5 separate regions of the Homo sapiens genome follow, and all the other regions are linked to region 5. The links are contacts of gene promoters, found by promoter capture Hi-C in blood cells and fetal thymus (Javierre and others, 2016). All regions are on one chromosome and are shown on one strand. Each heading gives the region's core, a stretch centred on a gene start or on the middle of the fragment in contact. The rest is flanking DNA. Distances are from core to core; before and after follow the strand shown.

Region 1 (2,700 bases), core at 64-2,563, 330 kb before region 5:
AAGACTCGACCCAATTCTCAAGCCTTCTCCCCCACAGTTCTGACCCAATTCTCTCATCATTTCCACAAAGACGTGACCCAATTTGCCTCCATCCTTCCCCCAGCACATGCGATAACATTCCCCCTACAGCTCCCACACTACGGATATGACCTCATTTCCACCCCCATGCCAGTCACTCACACCTGTTCCCCCTCCATTTCCCCACGATGGCCAGGAGCCACCATGGTTACCTTCTCTTCTTGCACCTAGGACACCACCCCCTTCTCTAAAAACACCAAGGACACAGCTTCCCTTCGGCAGCAGCCTCTTCTTTCCCTGGGTACATTCACAGGGATTTGACCTAATTTTCCCACTTCTCAAACCCTACTTGGCTCATCCATCTCATCGCACACCGTCTTCCCAAGGACACGTGGTTTGTGTCATTGCTGGAATGTCAAGCCCTCTGACACAGCCAATGCTCCCAATCAATGCTCGCAGCACAGCACTGAGTAGGTAGTTACTGCAGCCCCTGGCATGGCCAGAGGAAACGTCACAGCTGGCTGTGCCTTAACTGATACTCAGTTATTAGTTTATTCTTTAAAGAAATCATTTTGTTGGCAGCTTATCTGCCAGCATTTTGGATTTTCTCCCTTCCTTCCTTCCTTCCTTCCTTCCTTCCTTCCTTCCTTCCTTCCTTCCTTCCTTCCTTCCTTTCTTTCTTTCTTTCTTTCTTTCTTTCTTTCCTTCTTTCTTTCTTTCTTTTCTTTAAAAAAGGACATGTGATGAGTTCCGGTGAAGTGTGGTAGGGCTGTCAGTCAGGGGTTAAAGTCCTTTATAAGAAAACATGGGCAGGAGCAAATGTACCGGCCACTGAATGCTGCCCTTTCTATGTCAGTAGGGCTCCTGGAGAGGTTATAGGAGATGGCTCTCTGAGGGCTCTTCATTCATGGCTGCTACCTAATTAAAAAATAAATACGTTTCAATGATCACAAATGATTTTTATTTATCCACTAGGAACCAGATTACAATCAGTTATGCATATGAAATCTACTAAACAGTTTTCAGGTGAAAGGGTATTAAGTTCTATCAACGTTGGGGACTGATTTGGGTGAATAGACTTGGAGGCGATTGGTTGAGGGAAGACTGGAGAGAGCTTTTGTAGCCTTGCTCTCGTTTTTGTAACTGTTCCTCCCTAGGTCACTGCCCACTTACGTGTGATGGAGAAAGAGCCCACTCCAGCTCTCCCTGTTCTCTTAACTTGGCTGAGTTTTGGTGACACTCACGGTGGAACTTGGTTAGAAATAGTTGTTGTTTTGAAAAATTCAGAATTTTTCTTCTAAAATGAAGTAATACACGTTAAAGGTTTTGGACACCGTGAAGAGTTGTTCCAAATGGTAGTTATTCGGATGATAACAATCCCTGTTATCATCACAAGCACCATCTCTGCTGCCACCACCTTCATCATCACCACCTGCATCACAATCATTATCATCACCATCACCACCACCTTCATGATCACCACCACCTGCACCATGGCTATAATTACTACCACCACCATCAGCATCACTACCACCACCATCATTATCACCACCATCACCGCCACCTTCAGGATCACTGCCACCTGCATCATGGCTATAATTACCACCACCATCACCACCATCACTACCACCACCATCACCGTCACCACCATTACCACCACCATCACTACCACCACCATCACTGTCACCACCACTACCACCACCATCATCACCACCACCATCACCATCATCAACACCACCACCATCACCACCATCACCACCACCTTCATGATCACTGCCACCTGCATCATGGCTATAATTACCACCGCCATCACCATCATCACTACCACCATCATCACCATCATCACCATTACCACCACCATCACTGCCACCATCACTACCACCATCATCACCATCATCACCACCACCACCATCACCACCATCACCATCACCACTTTCATCACCACCATCTTTATCACAGTCATTATTACCACCATCAATCATCACCACCTTCATGATCACTGCCACCTGCATCATGGTTACAATTACTACCACCACCATCAGCACCACCTTCATGATCACCACCACCTGCATCATGGCTATAATTACTACCACCATCACCACCACTAACACCACCATCATTATCACCACCATCACCACCATCTTCATGATCACTGCCACCACCACCACCATCACCACTACCACCATCACCATCACCACTACCATCACCATCACCACCACCACTACCACCACTTTCATCACCACCATCTTTATCACAACCGTTATTGTCACCATCAATCACCACCACCTTCATGATTACTGCCACCTGCATCATGGTTACAATTACTACCACCACCATCACCATCACTATCACCACCACCACCATCACCATCATCACCACCACCAGCAGCACATCTGAAAAACTCTGATTCTGGCCTTTATGTCTCAGATTCTTTTCTTTTCCTGTCAACTTCTTTATTTATACATTTATCCATTAAAAAGAATGAGAATGAAAAACAGAAAAATTATTCTTTTTTTATTATTCTAAGAATTTGTATCTTTTTCACGAGTAAGTTAGAAGCTAAAGATCTATCTATCATCTATCTGTTCATCTCTCTGCCTATTAATCGATGGATCATTTTCTTTTGCTTGTTGGTTGTATTTCCATGGCTCTTCCCTTTTAGTTTGTCTTCATCCCTCCACC
Region 2 (2,755 bases), core at 238-2,737, 430 kb after region 5:
CAGACCGAGAGTGTCCATCCCCCTCCCCCCAACCCCGAGGCCTGCTCCAACAGAAGCGGGATCTGCCGAGTGTTTACAGCCCCATGGCAGATGGCCTCCTCTCAGCTCTCTGAACCAGGAGACTCCTCTGAGACACCCCCAGGGAGAGCTGGAGGAGGAGGAAGGAAGGCTCAGATCTCTGCATCTGCCTGACTTATTCTGTCCCCTAGCCAGAGGCCACTGCACCCCGCACTATTGTGTGGCTGCCATTTGGATCTGAGCACCCTTGCAGGGAGCTCTGGAATTCTGCGGGAGCCACAGCAGGGGGAGCGGAGTTAGCCTCAGCTGGCTCAGCGGCTACGAGGTCAGCCCGGCAGCCTGCATTATTAAACCATCTATCTGGCTCCCTCCAGGGAGATGCTGGGGGTGGGGGCAGGCTGCTGCCTGGGTCCGGAACTGGGGCAGCCGGCAGCTCCTGGGAGCTGGAGGTCACCGGCCTCATGGCTGGGCTTGTCACTGCTGACCTGCTGCCGGCTCCGAGGTTCCAGATGCTGTAGGGGCTAGAAAGGAGCTGACTGGCTGGTTTCTTCATGTTCTTTTTTCTGCTCAAAAACTTCTGGTCTCTGACTCCACAGGGTAAAGCGCCAGCTCCTTACGCTGGCATCTGGAGTTTTCTGCAACCTGGCCACACTCTTCCTAAAATCGTAATAATAGCTCAAAAAGGAGGTGTTTACTCTCCTTCAGGCTTGGTGCCATGTGCTCTACATGAATTAAAGTCTCTGTGAATAATGACAACAATCTACGAGGTACTTCTGTTATTCTCATTTGACTGCAGAGGCTCAGAGATGCTAAGCAATTTGACCAGGATCACACAGTGAAGAAGAGGCGATGATTCCCCCAGGCTTTCCTGCTGATGCAGCCAGGCTGTGGCCACGAGACGCTGGGGATATTTTAGGCTCAAAGCCCCATTCTTAGCCCTACAATCGCTTGTCACTTCCCAGAGTCATGCCTTTCCTGAGGTTCTCTCACTGTAGAATCTGGGGGACTGACGGTCCCTGGGGAGGGGGATGCATTGTATATATTCCCAAGACTCCATGGCAAAGGGAGGGTTTGTGTGGCTGCTACCAAGTTACTCAGGCTCAAATCCCAGATGCTACCTGAATGCCACCTGGATGCCACCTGGGCTCCTGTCAGCTCTGCCTGCTAAACCTAGCCCCTCCTCTCTCCCTCACTGCCACAGAAGCAAAGGCAGGTGGGTCCCATTCACCTTTGCGTGCTCAGGGTCTGGCATGCAGATGGCACTCCAAAAATATTTGCTAAGGAAAATGATCAAGTGTATGCCTGCGTGAACAAACGAAGGAAGAAAAGAAGAGGGAGTGGCCAGCATGAGGAGAGAAAACGGATGGGTGAACAGGAAGGCTGGTGAATTCGGCTCTGCCCTAGGGACCAGGGGTGGGCACTGGGCAAAGGAAATCTTCACACAAGAAGAGATGCTCCAGGAACCTGCCTGACAGGTGGGAGGAGCACGCAGGCAGGGCGCCTGGAAGGGGCAAGGCGTGGAGGAAGATTTGAGAGGGGGCAGTAAGAGCAGGCCACAGAAGAGGCCTTGGTCTCACTCAGATCCTTCCGGTAGTTCTGACTGGTTTCTCCAAAATCTCCCCATTTTCTCTCATCTCCTGCTTTCTGTCTGCCCTCATGCTTGGAGGCCATGGAACTCCAGCTCACATGGCCCATCACAACTCATTCTCAGAGCAAGCACTGGCACAGCCTTGGCATCTGACACCTAGCTGTGCCTTAGTTCTGCCAGGTCTGGCCAGGGCGGTGATAGGGACTTCCCCTCTCTTCCGCCATAGACCCAGCTCTGGTCACAGCCAAGACCCCAGCTCCCCACACCCAGAGGAGAAGGCTGGAGCAGGGCCTGGAGATGGGAAGGGATTTGTGAGCCAGGCGGGCTCCTTTGAAGTGGGACCTCTCCTTCCTACCAGGGGCTGAGTGGGACCAGGAGGGGAGCCTGTGTCAGGGCCACAGCCATGCAGGCTGGAGTCCAGGGCAGTCCCCAGACTCCTTGGAGAGGATAACAAGACCCCTCACCACGTAGGAGCGGCTCCCTTGTGCCAGGTTGTAGATATGCCGCCATGTCCTCATGACAACCTGAGGGGATGTCATCAGTCCCCAGGACTCATTGGTTGTAAGTGACAGAAACCCAACTTAAACCAGTTTGAACTGGATTACACTCAAAGGTGATATCTTGACTCCCATAACAGGGCAGGCTGCCTTGAGGAAGACTGGGAAGGAGGAGGAGGCCATCTTGAATGCCATCAACATCCTCTCTTTGTGCTGTAGTTCTCTCAGGCCCACTGTCCCTGCTGCAGGAGAACCAGGAGCCTCCACAGGCCCAGACTTACGGCCTGACAGATTCATGGCCAGAGTGGGAAGAGCTTCTCTTCCCATTCCAAGCTGAACAATTCTAGGAAAGGACTCTGATTGGCCCAGCGTGGGTCACATGCTTATCCCTTGGACCAATTGCTGTGGCCAGGGTGACCCAGCCTGGGTCAGGTACCCCTGCCCTTGTAACCAGGGAGAGGACCTGTCAGCAGAGGAACTGGGAGGGACCCTGGCCAGACAACAGCAACAGCAGCAGCGCAGGGACTTTTTAAAAATACATGTTTTATTTTGGAATAATTCTGGATTTATGGAAACAATGCAAAGATAGCACAGAGAGTTCCCGGATACCCTTCACCCAGCTTCCCCTGAAGCCAGCATCTTATATAACCGT
Region 3 (2,714 bases), core at 214-2,713, 360 kb before region 5:
ACAATCACAAAACAAAGGATCAAAGAATATGCTAATCAGAAGGGAAGGTCAGGACTGGAGGAGAAGTAAAGAAACACCAATGGGCAGGTCTTAGCATCTCACAGTGTTGCTAATGCTACTCTGTGCAACCGAAGCTCCCTGACAGCCAAAGCAGAGAGGGAACGTATGTCAGTTACATGAATCTTATTGTTCAAGAAGGGGCATCACCACAGTCCCTATTTCTTCTCATGATAAAATGTGTTTTCTAACCATATTACCTTATTTAAGCCTTAGGACAATCTCATGACTCAGTTACCATTATTAGCTCCATTTTACAGATGAAAAAACTGGGGCTTAATAAAGCTAAGCACCTTGCCCAAGGTTACATCCGGAAAATGGCAGAGTTGAGAGAAATTCTCAGGCAGTCTAAACTCAGAGCTCTGTTCTAACCATGAACTTCACTGCCTCTGTTATGGGCAAACTGAAAAAGTACATCAATGGTCCCTCGGTGAAAGCTTAATTGCCCTGGAAGATAGTCTCCTGGAAGGGATTTGGGGAAAAAAAAGAAAGACACACCCATATGCAACGGGAGGACTAAATATTAAGTATAAAGCTCATCTGCTTTTAGGCCCCAGACATCCCAATAGCCCAAGAATGGGAAAACCAGAGCTGTGAGGTCCCAGGCTCCAGCTGAACTGGGCTAAAACTGGCCTGAAAATCCTACACCTAATTCTGTCATCATAAAAGCATGATCTTTGTAAGAGAAAGGAGGAGCAACAATCCCCATTAGCTTGACGTCTTCCTGTTCTCAGCCTCACCCCTTTATAGCAGAACCTCACTAGGTCTTTGAGAGCTGCTCTATTGTCTGGGCCAGTAGTTGGAAGATGCTCTCCAAGGTGCTGAAGCAAGTGGGGCTTATTTTTCTTTTCAGATTGGCTTCTTGCCACTGACTCACCACTCCTGGTAAATCACATGAGTGTTCTAGCAGATTGCGAAGACAAACTGCATGATCAAGCTGAGAAAATGTGGCAATTTGTAAGCGTTCAAGTTTATTAACAGGTAATGCTAATACTGAGAGGTAGCATGGCTGAATGACTTTGGCAAATTTCTTAAACTTTCTATGCCTCAGTTTTCTCACCTGTAAAATGGAAATAATAATAATAAAAAATAATACTGACCCCAAAACAAGTTGCTGTGAGGATCAAATGAGTTACTAAGTGCTTAAAACAGCGCCTGGTGAATAAGCCCTATATAAGTGGTTTTTTTTGTTTGTTTTTGTTTTTGTTTTTTTAAAGTTGGTTATATTCCTTAAGGCAAAATTTCTTGGTAATGGGGTCATCTCTAGGATGACGAACCTGGCAGAGTTACTTCATGCCATAGGATAAGTGCAGTCCCATTGGATGCTGTGATGACAGATGACATAGAAAACAGTATGTTACTTTCATCCTTCTATCAAATTCACATAACAAGACCAAAGCCTGCACCACATCCAATTCTCTGTTGCATCTCAGAATTCTAAGTCCTTCATTAACGTTCTAAAATGTTGAATTCTGTGTGCTATGCAGTTTTTAAACAACATCTGTTCATCAACCCCAGAGGTGACAGCGAGTCAGTGTTGGGGGTTGTTCAAAGCATACCCACACCTCTTGGCTCCCTCACAGGAATGTTAGGGGGTCTAATTAATTACTGTTTGCAAAGCAACCGAGAAATTCTCCAGGGAAAGTTGCTGTAGAAATGCAAGTTTCTTCCAGCACTTTGGGAGGCTGAGACGGGCGGATCACGAGATCAGGAGATCGAGACCATCCTGACTAACACAGTGAAACCCCATCTCTACTAAAAATACAAAAAATTAGCCAGGCGTTGTGGCGTGTGCCTGTAGTCCCAGCTACTTGGGAGGCTGAGGCAGGAGAATGGCATGAACCCCAGAGGCGGAGCTTGCAGTGAGCTGAGATCGCGCCACTGCACTCCAGCCTGGGCGACAGAGCAAGACTCTGTCTCAAAAAAAAAAAAAAAAAAAAAAAAAAAAAAGAAATGCTAGTTTCTGTATTATTATTACATGTGCTTGTAATTGTTTTCAAAGTTTACTTATTGGGCAGGGAGAGGGAGAATATATTTTCTTCCTTGACGGCAATGGATAATGCTCTGCAAATTGGCATTTATGGATACTAAATCACTTTGTGAAACATTATATCTCTAGAGCTACAGGAATCTCATAATGGGAAATGCACATAAAGGGTTTCTTCTTTCACTTTTGCACCCTCCCCTTCATTCAACTTCCATTTCCATAAACAAATGTGAAAAGAAACATTATAAGAAGCAGCCATGTGTATCCAAACTTTAAAAGTCAAATGCATATTTTAATATAAAATTACCTGCATAGAGTCAGACTTTTTTGGATAGAACATCCTTCGCGTTAATTTATGCTAAAGATTGAACAACATTAGGTTGAAATCAAAGCTTGAAACAGACACAAAGGAAGTTGGGGATAGACATAATCTGGAACAATTAAAATTATGTGCTGAGCTCACCCACCCCAAAAGCTATAGAAAATATTGGCTTGACTTGATTTTGTAAAGATTTCTGTGAAATATTTAAGAGCAAGCCTATATCTGGGAAATATCTTTCCATGGTTATATATGTATTTCTTTTTTCCCATTTTATGGAGAAATAACTATTTTATGGGTATTGTTGAGCATTAGCCGAGGAAACTTACCCCCTGTCCTTTAATGTTTCTC
Region 4 (2,700 bases), core at 80-2,579, 290 kb before region 5:
AATAATTCACTTTTCCAATTGATCTATGCTGCCTACAAAATGCCATATCAACTGGAAGCACAGTCTGGTTAGTGAGTTTTGAGAGCCAGTTCAGACAGACCACTTTGTGTGACAGGCTTGGCTCAGGCAATGATGACCTCTATGAGCTGAATTTACCTGTGGTCAAACGGTCCCAGTGTTGGAAGAGCATCCACAAGCCAGATTCTCAAGGGTGCGGCAGGGGTACCTGATTGTGTCCAACTCATGTTGTGTGCTGAATATTTTACACAGTTCCTGCTAGTTTGCATTTGTCCTAAATAAATTTCTGACAATGTCAAGTTCAATGGATTCTCTAGATAAAACATCCCTGAGCACCATGTTTCCCTTGAAAGGATGCCCAGCTGCATATGCACATTTGTGGTGTAGCCTTCACACAAACACACTTATTTGGGTAAAGTAGAAGTGTGTATGTGGGAACTAATACATCCTTCTGCCATCGTGACTCAAGCCTGAGGAGTGTTAATTGTGGATGAGTGGGGTTTTGGGGCATAAGCAATTGCCTGGTTCACTTTATGGTAGAATCACCCCGAAGCTGTGTATTGGGAGGAGAGAATGAGGACGGAACATTAGGTGAACTAAAAGGAGAGGCTATAAACTGAAGCTTATTCTTTGGGTAAGAGCAAGCCAAATTTATTCATGAATGGGTGTTCCTGGCCTTTGCTTTCCTGCTGTCATCTAATCAGGTTTTCTTGATTCTTGACTAGGTTTTTGGAAGAACTTAGGGATATAGAATCAAAAAGAAAGGAGGAGAAAGAAATGAACAAGAAGCCCTCTATTTAGGGTTCAGGAGAAGTTTTTCAGGGTGTTAGAGGAAAGGGTGGGAGAACCATAGGGGTGACGAGGGAGACAAGAGGGCATAGAAATTTTAAGAGATATCGCTACAGATATCTCCAATCCGTAGAGTAACCTGGTGGGCTTTGCATGTGGCTTTGACCAGTCATTGGCCCTTCTGGGTCTCCTCATCTCCCCATCTCTCAGAACTTGGACCCCAGGAAGCCAAAGGGCCTTTCTAGTGCTCACATTCAGATGTCAAATGGCATCCTCAAACTATGCTTGGTCCAGGACTCTGGAGAGATCTGGATTCCTATTGACTCAGAAAATTACTCAGTATTATTTTATCTGGTGTAAGCCACATCCCTCTTCTGTGCCTTGATTACTCTATTGGCTCATCAAGGACACTGAAATAAACACAGGGGACTCACAACGTGATATTCATGAAGTTGGGTTTCTTTTTTTCTTTTTTTGAGACAGAATCTTGCTTTGTCTCCCAGACTGGAGTGCAGTGGCGAGGTCATGGCTCACTGCAGCCTCAACCTTCCAGTGTCAAGTGGATCCTCCCTTCTCAACCTACCAACTAGCTGGAACTACAGGCACATGCCACCACGCTCGGCTCATTTTTAATTTTTTTTTTTTTTTTTTTTTTGTAGAGACAGAGTTTTGCCATGTTGCCCAGGCTGGTCTCAAACTCCTGGGCTCAGGCTATCCTCCCACCTCCGCCTCTTGAACTGCTGGGATTATAGGCATGAGCCACCCCGCTCAAACCAAAGTTCTTTTAATAAAGGAATTCCGCAGTGCAGGGTAGACAGCTTCCTTCTATCTCTCATATGTAAACTACCTCCTTTTCTTGCTCTCCTTTTCCCCTGACCCATTGTCTCCTTCTCTCCTCCTCAGGAGGCTGGATGGGGACACATACCATGAGTGACATCTTACCAGAGGGTGGCCATGAACTTCATCATGTTCCACAACTGTTAATGACCACTGGCGCTGGCCCTGCTGCTCTCTGAACTCCTCTCTGTGGAACTGTGCCCCTTCTCTGGGAAGAGTCCTTGAAGCTCTACTGAGAATGAAACCTCTTCTTTCAGCTCATGTCAATCTTGGTATTTTCCCAACATGTTCAGGTTCTGGCTTGGAGGTGCTATCTGTTGTTGACTTTGGACATAAACGAAGCTGTTATTTGCCTCTTTTGGTTTGTTATGTTAACAAGCTTTTGGGATTTGTTCTTTAAGATTCCCCACCCCTATTGTATGATGATAGGTGCTGGAACCAGACTGGTTGGGTTCAAATTTTTGCTGTCGCTAACTTGCTTTGTGAACACATGTCAGTTACTGAATCTCCCCGTGCCTCAGTTTTTTAAATATGTAAACAGGGAGTTCTCGTAGTACCCGTGGGTCTTAGTCAGTTATTGCTATAGAACAAACCACCCCCAGACTTAGTAACATCAACAACAACTATTGTTTTTTTCATTCATGCATCTGGAGAGAGGCTGGGGAGGAGGAGGCTTGGGTTTGGCTTATCTAGGTGGGGCTTGCTAGGCTTGGCTCTGAGCTGTGGATTAAACACAGGTCTTCTCCATTTGTCTTTCATCTTCTTTGGGCCACCGGCTACATAAGGCATGTTCTGATGGCAAAGAGGAGAATTAAAGGGGAAGTCCTATTGGCCAAAGCTGGTCAATGGGAGAGAGAAGCGTACGCCCCTAGGGAGAGACAGAGGGGAGTGAATTTTTGTTGAACAATTATCCTAACTATCACACTGTTGTGATAGTTAAATGATTTAATAACTTTAACAGGCTAATAACAGTACCTGGCATGGAGTAAGTATTCAATAAATAACAAACATTGGTAGTGATAATATCAGTACTAGTGGTAATATTAATATTGGCAT
Region 5 (2,700 bases), core at 53-2,552:
GTACTTAAGGAACGACACTGGAGGAGCCTCAGCCACACCTGGAGCTGATTTATATGACCAGATTCTAGCTTTTAAACTGATGCTTTAATAGGATGAGAATTTTAAAGATCTTAGGAGGGGATGACTATATTTTGCATGTGGAAGGGATGTACATTATTGGGGGCCAGAGGGCAGAGAGTGGCAGGCAGTTGACATGGCTCCCAATGATCCCTGTTTCTTGGTATAATTCTCTCCCCTTTGGTGTGGACTGGACATAGTGATGAATGGAATGTGGCAAAAATGAGGGATGTTGCATCCATGATGAACTTATAAGAGACTACAACTTCTGTCTTTTTCACACACTCTCTGCAGCTCTCCTCAGCTCATCTTCTCTGACAGAAGCCAGTTTCCCTGTTGTGAGATGCCCTATGGAGAGGTCCACAGGGCAAGGAACTCAGAGTGGCCTCTTGCCAACAGCTCCAGAGTAGCTGGATCCTGCCATGTGAATGGGTTCCTTCTCTGGTCGAGCTTTGAGATGAGACTAGAGACCCAAGCAACACCTTGATTGCAGCCTGTGAGAGACCCTGGGACAGAAAAATCACCAACACTCCACCGGTATTCCCAACTCACAGAAACTGTGAGATAGTAAATGTTGTCTTAAGCCCACTAAGTTTTGGGGTGATTTGTTGTGCAGCAAGAGATAACTAACACAAGTCCATGTCAAGCATTCTCACATCTGGTAAATTAGTCTGGTCTTCACAAATACCCAGTAAGGTGTTCGGAGACACTACTAATTTATCTTCTTTCACAGATGGAGAAAATGAGGCTCCGAAAAGACACAGGACTTCACCAGGTGGGGCTAAAATTAAATTGCACATCTTCAAGCTAGGTGAAGTTCAAGTTAGCTCCAAGTTTTCTTTCTCCTCCTATCCCCAGCCACCAACCTGACGTGCCCACGGCAGCTCTGTACGTCCCAGTGCACTGCCAGTCCACAGCAGTCTGGACGGGCTACAATGGAAGTGTGGACTCACTTCCAGTTTCTGACCCAGAGAGAGAGATCCCAAGAGACTTTGGTCAAAGAGGGCGGGAAGGTAAGTCCAGTCTAGGCAGTCTTCACTCACAAGCAACTCTGAATGGGGAGAAGGAAGATGAAACCCCATGTCCTGGAAGAACCCTGGCCCTTCATAAGTCTCTGCCTCACCTCTCCAATCTCTTTCATAACAGCAGGAAACACGTGAACCACACTGATGTGTGCTGAAGCCCAGAAGTGCAGATCCCCACTGCAGAACTACTGGTGAAGACCAATGGATGGTTGCTGGGAAGTGGCCCTCCCCAAGATGTTCATTGGAGTTGCCATGGTGATCACTATACACAGGGCTCTGTTACCTCAGAGGGCTGATAGGCCCACCCGTAGGGAAAAGAGGCCAGGAGAAAGCCAGGATTGAGGCCAGGAAAAGGCAGGAGGGGCTTCAATTATTGTTCACTCTCTCATCCACTCTAGAATGTCAGTTGAGCCCCCACTACATGCCAGGTGTGCCAGGCACAGGGGGCTCAGATGCTACCAAGTGCAAAAGATGTTCTTGGGAGCTCAAAGCACTAAGTAGGGAGAAGAACTAGCTCTGTGTAGGAAAAAGGAGGAAGGACTTATGAAAGAGCCATTTGAGTTGGATCTTGAAGGATGCCTAGGAACTTAACAGTTTTGAAGGGATGAGAATATTAAAGGCATGGATGTGTATAACAGCATAAATGTAGGTCGAGGTCAATGGGGAAGGAGAAAGATGCATCTGGAGCTGTCTGATTTGGACACCCAGGGATCAGGGACCTGGGAGTAAAACTAAAGGAAGGGTCCTCTCTCCTATTCCTAAACAACAAGGGCTACAGAAGGAGATCAACAAAATTAAGTGACTTCTTTTCTGCAGAGAAGAAGGAGGCAGAAGTCATTGGTGCCAGCACTGGCCCATTCCTGTCTGGCTGTTGCTCAGCCTGGACAAAGAGTGGGTATAGTGAACGCCTCCTGCAAGCCCAGCCTTTCAGGATTTCCCCAGGAAACAGAGAGTGCTGTGGTTAAACTTGGAGTCCCCAGAATCTGGGCCTGTCACTTATTAGATAAGAGACTGGCCAAGTCCTTTAGCTGAACTTCCTTCACATGTGAAACAGATATCACCCAACACTAAGGATAAGGGTGATGGGCGAATAAAACAATTTTTTGCAAAATGTAGCACATTGCCTTGCACAGAGAGAGACATCACAAAACTCTAAGCTACTTCCGCAAGCAACCCATCAGCAAGTCCTTCGAAGTACACTAGATTTGGATGCCTTCGTCCACCTCCACAACTCCCCCTACTCCCTGGTCCAAGCCACCCTCATCTCTTGCCTAAGTATTATCTATTGCTGCACGACAATCTTGCCATAAACTTCGAAGCTTAACATACAACTGTTATCTCACAGTTTCTTTGGGTCGGGTGTCTACTCATGGCTTAGCTGAGTTCTCTGCATTGGGGTCTTAGCAGGCTACAATCCAAGTATTGGCCAGGGCTGCAGTCTCATCTGAGGTTCCACTAGGGAAGAATATGCTTCCAAGCTCATGTGGCTGTGGGAGGATTCAGTTCCTTGCAGTCTGTTAGACTGAGGGTCTCAGGCTCTCTCTGGCTGTCAGCCAGAGGCCATCCTCAGTTCCTTGCTATGTGGGCCCCCCAACACCAACATGACACTGACTTCATC

What was found. Contacts are between HindIII fragments. The CHiCAGO score rates a contact against its expected background, and 5 or more counts as called.
Region 1: a contact is called between a fragment that was not itself captured here and the fragment with the promoter of CIMIP4 in region 5, in 1 of 17 cell types (endothelial precursors). The highest score is 5.2, in endothelial precursors.
Region 2: a fragment that was not itself captured here is called in contact with the fragment with the promoter of CIMIP4 in region 5 in 2 of 17 cell types (total CD8 T cells and activated CD4 T cells); the score reaches 5.8 in total CD8 T cells.
Region 3: a fragment that was not itself captured here is called in contact with the fragment with the promoter of CIMIP4 in region 5 in 3 of 17 cell types (endothelial precursors, M1 macrophages and M2 macrophages); the score reaches 6.4 in endothelial precursors.
Region 4: a contact is called between a fragment that was not itself captured here and the fragment with the promoter of CIMIP4 in region 5, in 2 of 17 cell types (endothelial precursors and M0 macrophages). The highest score is 6.4, in endothelial precursors.

Annotation. Positions count from the first base shown.
Region 1 is chr22:36,678,509-36,681,208 of GRCh38, forward strand. The region is part of intron 1 of CACNG2 (calcium voltage-gated channel auxiliary subunit gamma 2); the gene reads right to left. Among named protein-coding and RNA genes, the nearest start is that of CACNG2, 24 kb to the right of the region's middle. The HindIII fragment of the contact is 4,632 bases long and covers 1-2,700 here.
Region 2 is chr22:37,433,659-37,436,413 of GRCh38, forward strand. No RefSeq gene overlaps it. Among named protein-coding and RNA genes, the nearest start is that of ELFN2, 7.6 kb to the left of the region's middle. The HindIII fragment of the contact is 6,818 bases long and covers 1-2,755 here.
Region 3 is chr22:36,643,560-36,646,273 of GRCh38, forward strand. All of the region lies in intron 1 of CACNG2 (calcium voltage-gated channel auxiliary subunit gamma 2), which reads right to left. Among named protein-coding and RNA genes, the nearest start is that of CACNG2, 59 kb to the right of the region's middle. The HindIII fragment of the contact is 1,942 bases long and covers 493-2,434 here.
Region 4 is chr22:36,719,206-36,721,905 of GRCh38, forward strand. All of the region lies in intron 1 of CACNG2-DT (CACNG2 divergent transcript), which reads left to right. Among named protein-coding and RNA genes, the nearest start is that of CACNG2-DT, 17 kb to the left of the region's middle. The HindIII fragment of the contact is 1,383 bases long and covers 639-2,021 here.
Region 5 is chr22:37,006,549-37,009,248 of GRCh38, forward strand. CIMIP4 (ciliary microtubule inner protein 4) reads right to left here and starts at 1,303. Exons shown (of 6, transcript NM_001163857.2): 1 at 1,181-1,303. The HindIII fragment of the contact is 2,868 bases long and covers 1-2,399 here.